2 separate regions of the Homo sapiens genome follow, and region 1 is linked to region 2. Evidence: promoter capture Hi-C in 16 types of primary human blood cells and fetal thymus (Javierre and others, 2016). All regions are on one chromosome and are shown on one strand. The core of a region is centred on a gene start or on the middle of the fragment in contact, and the rest is flanking DNA. Distances in the headings are between cores, read along the strand shown. Region 1 overlaps ZNF594-DT (ZNF594 divergent transcript). Region 2 holds the start of RABEP1 (rabaptin, RAB GTPase binding effector protein 1).

Region 1 (4,948 bases), core at 2,409-4,908, 82 kb before region 2:
GCCCCCGTCCTGAAGTTATCTAGGGGCTCCCAGCCATCAGCCATCTCAGCAGCATACAAAAGACAGTTTTTGTCTGTTTGTTTTTGTAGTTTTGAGATGGAGTCTCACTCTTGTTGCCCAGGCTAGAGTACAATGGCACGATCTCGGCTCACCGCAACCTCCGCCTCCCGGGTTCAAGCGAGTCTCCTGCCTCAGCCTTCTAGAGTAGCTGGAATTACAGGCATGCGCCAGCACACCCGACTAATTTTGTATTTTAAGTAGAGGCAGGGTATCTCCTTGTTGGTCAGGCTGGTCTCGAACTCCCAACCTCAGGTGATCCTCCTGCCTCAGCCTCCCAAAGTGCTGGGATTACAGGCATAAGCCACTGTGCCTGGCCATTTGTTTGTTTTTGCTTTGAGATGGAGTCTTGCTCTGTTGCCCAGGCTGGAGTGCAGTGGCACAATCTCGGCTCACTGCAACCTCTGCTTCCTGGATTCAAGCGATTCGCCTGCTTCAGCCTCCAGAGTAGCTGCAACTACAGGCGCGCGCCAACATGCCCAACTAATTTTTGTATTTTTAGTAGAGACGAGGTTTCGCCATGTTGGCCAGGCTGGTCTCAAACTCCTGACCTCAGGTGATCCACCCAGGTCGGCCTCCTCAAGTGCCGTAATTACAGGCCTGAGCCACCGCGCCAGGGCCCCATGTGTGAACTTCTTAATACACCACTAGGTGGCAGTGATTTGCAGCCCGTGGTTGTATTAAACAGACTTTTTTTTTTTTTTTTTTTTTTTTTTGAGACGAAGTCTTGCTCTTGTTGCCCAGGTTGGATGGAGTGCAATGGCCTGATCTTGGATCACCACAACCTCTGCCTACCAGCTTCAAGCAATTCTCCTGCCTCAGCATCCCACATTGCTGGGATTACAGGCATGTGCCATGATGCCCGGCTAATTTTTGTATTTTTAGTAGAGACGGGGTTTCTCCATGTTGGTCAGGCTGGTCTCGAACTCCCAACCTCAGGTGATCCACCCACCTCGGCCTCCCAAAGTGCTGAGATTACAGGCGTGAGCCACCACGCCCTGCCTAAAGAGACATCTTAAATACGCCTTTATTTTTAGACAATAGAAAAATAAGCTTCCCATTATGCAAGAGTCCTATGGCCTTTGTGCTTTCCTACCCTGTGAACTAAGAGTCTAAATCTGTGAAAAGATGTCCATGAGGTAGAGTTGAATTAAAATAGCAGGTTGCAGAACAATATTTGTACCTCCTCACTTTCTTCTTTTCTGCCTCTCTCCCTTCCTTCTCTACTTCCACAAAAGTTGACTGAGCACCTATTGTGTGCTAATATATGCTAAGTTACTGGAAATGCAATGGTGAGCAAAGCAACACCAGTGTAGTCCCTGTGGATCTTATAGTCCCTCATTGATGGACAGATAGGTTGGTTCCACCTTCTCATTATAACAAATAATACTACAAAGAACGTTTTATACATACACTTGAGTTTCTCTAGGGCAGTGGTTCTCAAAGAGTGGTCTGGGCCATGAGACCAAAACAATTTTCATAATAATATTAAGATGTTATTTGGCCTTTTTCATGCTCACTCTTCTCACGAATGTTCAATGGACCTTTCCATGAGGCTACATGACATACGACATTGCAACAAATTGATGGCAGAAGCAGATAGGAGAATTCAGATGTTTTCTATTAAGCCAGATATGAGATTTGAAAAAAAAAATGTAACATACACAGTGACACTTTTCTCACTAATTTTTTTGTTTGGGAAAATATAGTTATTTTATTATTTTTTGGAGAGAGGGTCTCACTCTGTTGCCCAGGCTGGAGTGCAGTGGCACCATAGCTCACTGCAGCCTCAAACTCGTGGGCTCAAGTGATCCTCCCGCCTCTGCCTCCCAAGTAGCTGGGACTACAGGTGCTCACCACTATGCCTGGCTAACGTTTTTATTTTTAGTTTTTGTAGAGATTGAGTCTTGCTATGTTGCCCAGGCTGGCCTCTAACTCCTGGGCTCAAGCAGTCCACCCACCTCAACCTCCTAAGTAGGTGGATCTACAAGCTCTCACCACTGAGCCTGGCTCCCTCCATCATTTTTAAGTGCAATGGAGACCTGGTACCAAGTGGTTTGAGACTCACTGTTCTAGGGCAAGGGTCCCCATTGCCCGGGCCTGGACCAGTACAGTCTGTGGCCTGTTAGGAACCAGGCTGCACAGCAGGAAGTAAGTGGAGGGCAAGCGAGCATTACTTCCTGAGCTCTGCCTCCTGTTAGATCAGGGGCGGTATTACATTCTCATAGGAGCACGAACCTTATTGTGAACTGCACACATGAGGACTCTGGGTTGCACGCCTTTTACGAGAATGTAATGGCTGATGATCTGAAGTGGAGCAGTTTCATACCAAAACCATTCCCCCCTTTCCTCCCAACCCGTCCCTAGTGCCAAAAAGGTTGGGGACTGCTGTTCTATGGTATCTATCCCGAAGTGGAGTTGCTGTGTTTTACAGTGTCCACAATTTCAGTTTTACTAGGTGTTGCCAAATTGCTCTCCAAAGTGGCTGAAGCTAATTTATTATTTTTTTTAAATTTATTTTGAGATGGTGTCTTGCTCTGTTGCCAGGCTGGAGTGCAGTGTCGCGATCTTGGCTCACTGCAACCTCCGCCTCCTGGATTCAAGTGATTCCCCTGCCTCAGCTTCCCGAGAAGCTGGGATTATAGGCGCGCACTCCCACGCCCAGCTAATTTTTTGTATTTTAGTAGAGACAGGGTTTCACCATGTTGGCCAGGCTGGTTTCAAACTCCTGACCTCGTGATCCACCCACCTCAACCTCCCAAAGTGCTGGGATTATAGGTGTGAGCCACTGCGCCTGGCCTTTTTTTTTTTTTTTTTTTTTTTTTTTTTCTTAAGAAGGAGTCTCAGTCCATCTCCCAGGCTGGAGTGCAGTGGTGCAATCTTGGCTCACTGCACCTTCCACCTGCCAGGTTCAAGCAATTCTCCTGTCTCAGCCTCCTGAGTAGCTGGGATTATAGGCACGCACCACCACACCTGACTATTTTTTTTATATATTTAGTAGAGATGGGGTTTCATCATGTTGGCCAGGCTGGTCTCAAACTCCTGACCTCAAGCCATCCGGCCTCTCAAAGTGCTGGGATTACAGGCGTGAACCACCTCAACTGGTCAAAAGCTAATCTTAAAAAACAAAAAACAAACAAAAAAAACCCCAAAAATACCAGGCCGGGTACGGTGGCTCACGCCTGTAATCCCAGCACTTTGGGAGGCCTCAGTGGGTGGATCACAAGGTCAGGAGTTCAAGACCAGACTAACCAATATGGTGAAACCCCATCTCTACTAAAAATACAAAAATTAGCTGGGCATGGTGGTGCACGCCTGTAGTCCCAGCTACTCAGGAGGCTGAGGCAGGAGACTCACTTGAACCCAGGAGGCAGAGGTTGCAGTGAGCCAAGATCGCGCCACTGCACTCCAGCCTGAGCGACAGAGCAAGACTCTGTCTCAAAAAAAAAAAAAGAAAGAAAAAAACCAACCAAACAAACAAACAAAAAAACTGGCTGAGGAGGACAAATCACTTGAGCCCAGGAATTTGAGGCCAGCCTGGGCAACATGGCAAAACCCCATCTCTACAGAAAATAATTTTAAAAGTTAGTTAGAAGCCTTTACTAACTTAGGGGAAAAAAAAATTAGCCAGGCATGGTGGTGCATGCCTGTGGTCCCAGTTACTTGGGAAGCTGAGGTGGGAGGATGGCTTCAGCCTGGGAGGCAGAGGTTGCAGTTAGCTGAGATTGTGCCGCTGCACTCCAGCCTGGGTGACAGAGTAAGACCTTGTCTCAAAAAAAAAAAAAAAAAAGTACATATCCTTGATGTTTTTGTCGTTGTTTTTCCCAAATCTCAAATTGTAAAGAATTGTGAAATTATTAGACTAGTAAAAGAAAAAAAAATAAAGTAGACTAGTGATACAATACAACAGTGAGTTGCTGTATGAAATGTTCATTTTCTTTTCTAAACAATACTGTGAAAAGCAGGGTCACATTTATCTTAAATGTTCTCAGAGGAAGTTTTTCTTGGTCACTGAGAATGGCTTTGTACAGTATCAACATTACATGTATCGGAAAATTTATTTTTGTTTGGGGGCTCATTGGGGATAAAAGTGTACAAGTTATGCAAATAAACCTTTTTTAACATCAGGGGAATTTCGTTATTCTTAAATACTACCTTCTGCAATTTTTGTTAAAACCATGTTCCACTAACACCTAATTTGTAAAAAAAAAAAAAAAAATACAGAGGGATCTAGTGTTAAAACAACTTAAAGGCTGTTAGTTTATAGTTCACTTTGTAAATGAGAGTTTATTTTTACCAGTTTAGGGCTTTTTAAAATTATTCATAGAATATTTAATTGTTCAAGTGTAGCTGATCTAAAACTTTAATGGCATTAAATTTTGGCAATGGAATATGTTGATCAGGCTGGGCGCAGTGGCTCATGCCTGTAATCCTAACACTTTGTGAGGCCGAGACAGGTGGATCACCTGAGGTCAGGAGTTCGAGACCAGCCTGACCAATATGGCGAAACCCGATCTCTACTAAAAATACAAAAATTAGCCGGACGTGGTGGTGGGAGCCTATAATCCCAGCTAGAAAAAAAGAAATACGTTGGTCAATATGAGAGGTTGAGTTTTACAGTTGAAGGGGAAGGGTGCAGCGATATTAATTGGCTGTTTCTGACAGTAGTTTGGCACATAGTTGTATGTACACTCTGCTCCAGTAAAATGAAATGCGACCACAGTCAACGGTTACCTATTTATGCTGGAGGGTGTTTGGCAATCAACTGTTAATTTAAGTGAGATTCCATTCTGCCGCTTAGCCATGGCAGAGCACACACATGTGCACTCAGGGAAAGCAGATGGAATAGGTTATAAACAGAAGCAAACTCCAATTCAGGAGACATGTTCAC
Region 2 (4,979 bases), core at 2,385-4,884:
CATGTGTTTATGTCTTATTCCCAATTTCCTTCAGAACATAAGAATCACATCTTTTATACTTAGTAAAGACTTTGAGCATACATTTGTTTTCCTAAAATATATTCCTAGGGGTGGAACTGCTGGGTCTTAAGGTTTACCTAAAAATACGAAAATGTTCAATATTCTTGATGCTCCTATCTGATTTCAAAATGGCTTTTTAACTACTTCCCTCACATGGAGAGCCCTAGGTGTCCAAATCATATGCCTGACCATTTCTGAGGGACCTTGACTTGAGGGCCTGGCTTCAAGCCTCATTATCAATGGCAACAAATTTGCCACTCTCTCACTGGAAGGAGCCCCTTCTATTTTATTTTTATTTATTTCTTTTTTTTGAGAGGGAGTCTTGCTCTGTCGCCCAGGCTGGAGTGCAGTGGTGCAATTTTGGCTCACTGCAACCTCTGGACCTCCTGGGTTCAAGCAATTCTGCCTCAGCCTCCCGATTGTAAGTGCCCAACACCACGCCTGGCTAATTTTTGTATTTTAGTAGAGACAGGGTTTCACCATGTTGGTCAGGCTGGTCTTGAACTTCTGACCTCAAATGATCTGCCCGCCTCGGCCTCCCAAAGTGCTGGGATTACAGGCGTGAGCCACCACACCTGGCCGCATCTGCTATCTTTATGGCTTATGCCTCGTGTTAGTCATCACAACAATACAGAGGATGCACTGGGCTGCCCTATCCTGGCCAAAGGTCTTCCTGGTAAGCATGGATTTGCTCATCCAGGAAAATCATTTATGGGGGGTTGGGCAGGGTGTTGGGGAGACCCTGCTTGCTCTCTCAAATGCACACCAGCCATTTGGGAGACATTAACTGCTCAAAAAACTCGAGTCTGTATTTTGGCTCTCCTCTAACGATGGCAGGACCTGGGGCAAAAGTACAAATAGATACCTAAATTATTTAAAATTACAAACCAGTTTGGACGTGGTGGCTCACACCTGTAATCCCAGCACTTTGGGAGGCCGAGGTGGGTAGATCACTTGAGGTCAGGAGTTCAAGACCAGCCGGGCTAACATGGTGAAACCCTGTCTCTACTAAAATTACAAGAGTTAACTGGGCGTGGTGACACACGCCTATAATCCTAGCTACTCAGGAGGCTGAGGCAGGAGAATCACTGGAATCCGGGAGGTGGAGGTTGCAGTGAGCTGAGATGGTGCCACTGCCCTCCAGCCTGGGCAATAGAGTGAGAGACTCCGTCTCCAAAAATTAAATAAATAATAAAATAAAATAAAATTACAAACTACTCCAATTAACCGCTAACCTTAATACAGTCTATCCTTCTACTTGGACAAATCTACCTGTTTAAGACCTGGAAGACCAGGTTTAAATTTAGAATTCCTGGGCTCCTGGGAGTTATGCCCATGAATGAGGTGGCGAAAGCAGCACAGGCCCTGGCCCAACTATTGTCTCTTGGCTCACTTGCCTTCTTTTCTCACCTCTGTCCTGCACCATGAGGGATCTGTGGACATAGGAGCTCAAACACCCAAGTGTCGTGTCACCCCCTTAAAATAAAACAAAGCTGCCCTTTAGCCTCCCTTTTTTTCAGTGAGAAATAATCATTTTAATAAAAGTATACCTTATTTAAAACAAATGATTTAAAGAAAGTAGAAACTGATTCTAATTAGTGGATTTTCTGATTATTATTATTATTATTTGAGATGGAGTCTCGATCTGTCGCCCAGGCTGGCAGTGGTGCGATCTTGGCTCACTGCAACCTCCGCCTTCTGGGTTCAAGCAATTCTCTGCCTCAGCCTCCCGAGTAGCTGGGAGTACAGGCGCCTGCCACCACACCCGACTAATTTTTTGTATTTTTAGTAGAGATGGGGTTTCACCATCTTGGAGAGGCTGATCTTGAACTCCTGACCTCGTGATCCACCTGCCTCAGTCTCCCAAAGTGCTGGGATTACAGGCGTGAGCCACTGTGCCCGGCCTATTATTATTTTTTTATTATACTTTAAATTCTTGGATACATGTGCTAAACGTGCAGGTTTGTTACATAGGTATACATGTGCCATGGTGGTTTGCTGCATCTATCAACCCGTCATCTAGGTTTTAAGCCCCGCATGCATTAGGTATTTGTCCTAATGCTCTCCCTCCCCTTCCCCCCACCCCCCACAGGCCCCGGTGTGTGATGTTCCCCTCCCTGTGTCCATGTGTTCTCATTATTCAATTCCCACTTATGAGTGAGAACATGAGGTGTTTGGTTTTCTTTTCCTGTGTTAGTTTGCTGAGAATGATGGTTTCCAGCTTCATGCATGTCCCTGCAAAGGACATGAACTCATTCTTTATGCTTTCACTTTAGCTTCTTTTAGGGATGTCTAGACTCTGCCATAGAGAGAATGGATCTGGGAAAGAGACCACAGCTTCAGCCATCTGGAAAGGGAATTCTGGGGCCACAAGTATTCAGAACTTGGTCCTGAAGTGCCAAACCCTGTGGACTCCCTCATCCTGGGGTGGGATTGCTGGGTCTTAAAATGTACATAATTCCTGATGCTCCTCTCTGATTTCAAAATAGCTTTTTAGGCCGGGCGCGGTGGCTCACGCCTGTAATCCCAGCACTTTGGGAGGCTGAGGCAGGCGGATCACGAGGTCAAGGGTTTGAGACCAGCCTGACCAACATAGTGAAACCCCGTCTCTACTAAAAATACAAAAATTAGCCGGGTGTGGTGGCGTGCGCCTGTTGTCCCAGCTAGTCGGGAGGCTGAGGCAGGAGAATTGCTTGAACCCGGGAGGCAGAGGTTGCAGTGAGCCGAGATCGCACCATGGCACTCCAGCCTGGGTGTCAGAGTGAGACTCTATCTCCAAAAAAAAAAAAAAAGCTTTTTAAACTACCTCCTTGGCATGGGGCACTCCAGGTGTCGAAATCAGACGGGGAGTGGTGATTAGAGGGGAGTTCCTAAAGTATAGGGCCCAGGGGCCCAAGTATAAGGGCCACACTTTGTGTATATGATTTCTCCTTTCCTGCCATGAGTGCAGGGTCTGTACCTGGCTGTATCTCCAGCATCTATCACGACTGAAAACCCAAACGTATTTGCTGAATGGATAGTATACTGGCCTCTGCACCAGAAGACCTGGGGTCCAGGCCCAGTACTGTCGGAAACAGTTCTTCATACTTTATTACCTCGTTTAAACTTTTCTTAGCCATTATATTGATAAAAATTCCAAGAGGTGAAGTGACTCTCCCAAGGTCGCAAAGCTAGAAGAGGTAGAGGCTGGAACTGCACCCCGCCATCGGTCCTCCTCTCTTACTCATTTTTTTTTTTCCCCTCACTGTGCTGGGGTGGAGAACCGGGACCGGCACCTTCGAGAGGCCAGGCCTCTGCTGCAGCCCCTCTTCTCCAGCTCCGCTCGGCACTCAGCCTCCCCGCGCCGCTGGGTCAGGCGCCCAGCTCCGCCGAAACCCTCCCCTCCCGCCGCGCTCCCTCCGCGCTCCCTCCGCGCTCCCTCCGCGCTCCCTCCGCGCTCCCTCCGCGCTCCCTCCGCGCTCCCTCCGCGCTCCCTCCGCGCTCCCTCCGCGCTCCCGAGGCCCCGCCCCTCCCCTCGGGCCAACGTCACGTGCCGCCCCATCCCCCTGCGCCTGCGCACTGCTTATTTCCCGCTGTCAGGATGAGGAGGCGGAGGTCGGCGGTCGGGTCCGTCTCTGCCCGCGGCTGTGGCGGCGCCGGCGGATCCAGCCTTAGCGGTTTCTCTCTGGGCGGCGGCGGCGGCGGCTCGGTTGACGCCTCCTCCGCCAGCTGAGCCCGCGGGAGCCCAGGACGCCGCTTCCCCGCCCATCCCCGCTCCCCGAGGCCGGCCGCCTGGTCATGGCGCAGCCGGGCCCGGCTTCCCAGCCTGACGGTGAGGCGCCCACCATGGCAGGCGCGGCGGGCGCGGCCTGCCCGGCGTCGGCGTCGCGGGAGGATTTCGGGGCGGGCAGGCGGCGGCAAGGGCGCGCGCAGGCCCCGGGGGTGACCCCGCCGGGCGGAGGCGGGGGCGCGCGGGCTGCGGCGCGCGAGGGCGGCGCGGGCGCCCCGGCTGCCGTCGCTGGGGAGGGGGCGGGAGGCGCGGGTGCAGCGCTTGCGGGAGGGCAGAGGGAAGGGCGTGGGGAGGCTGCTGGGTAGCGTGGGGTAGTGTGGGGAGGGAGCGGTTCTGGGTAGCGGGGGACCGGCACGTGGGTTCTGCCCGTGGGGGAGGATGGAAATCGGGAACATGTGCTATATTCGTTAAAGAAAAAAAATCTTAGCTTAGGTAGTGTACCCTCCCTGCCGCCCCAATCCTTGCTATAGAACTCTTTGCACCCAGTTATGTGACCTGAAAGTAGTTGTGTACAGTAACTGGATTTAGTAGCATTCCCTGAATGGCAGTGTGGCTTAATGGTTAAGTGTTGGGGCCTGGGAGTCTAGAGGACCTGTATTCTTAACCAGCAAGCTCTGGGCTCATTTCTTAGCCTCGTTGAGCCTCAGTATTCTCACCCACGAATTAACCAAGAGGTTAATTCATGCCTTTATATTTTATCTATAAAAATAGCAACACGAATGTGTATATACAATAATAGTATTATGGAGGTATTAGGAATAATGAGAATAGTGTTTGAGAATGCTGAGGCCTACTTGCACTACTTGAAGATATTTGCTTGTGGAACTAAAAAAAAAAAAGTGAAGTCGAAGAAATGTGTCATTTATATTCTTGGAAGGAAAAAAGGGCCCCATCCTAAATAATCAAAGTTGGTTGTCAGAGCCCTTCGTGACCTTCTGGGAAATTGGACTAAGCTGTGCTTCACAGATTGACTACATGGTTCCAGGTTTTACCACCTAGAATAGATGTTTGGAAATAGTGTGCTTGGGCTTTTCCAAGGTCCCACTGTATCTAGTTGTGAAAGTACTTTCTGGTGTATTTCTATAATCAGCGTGTGTGCTTAGCATCTTTAAGTGTGAGTAGAGTAGAATGTTGGGAAAAGGGGCTTGGT

What was found. The method cuts DNA at HindIII sites, captures the fragments that hold promoters and counts their contacts. A CHiCAGO score of 5 or more calls a contact.
Region 1: a fragment that was not itself captured here is called in contact with the fragment with the promoter of RABEP1 in region 2 in 2 of 17 cell types (total B cells and naive B cells); the score reaches 8.5 in total B cells.

What each region holds. Positions count from the first base shown.
Region 1 is chr17:5,196,441-5,201,388 of GRCh38, forward strand. The region is part of intron 1 of ZNF594-DT (ZNF594 divergent transcript); the gene reads left to right. Among named protein-coding and RNA genes, the nearest start is that of ZNF594-DT, 6.9 kb to the left of the region's middle. The HindIII fragment of the contact is 5,101 bases long and covers 1,109-4,948 here.
Region 2 is chr17:5,278,650-5,283,628 of GRCh38, forward strand. RABEP1 (rabaptin, RAB GTPase binding effector protein 1) reads left to right here and starts at 3,635. Exons shown (of 18, transcript NM_004703.6): 1 at 3,635-3,871. The coding sequence starts at 3,838. RefSeq lists a silencer at 3,355-4,074. The HindIII fragment of the contact is 5,707 bases long and covers 2,852-4,979 here.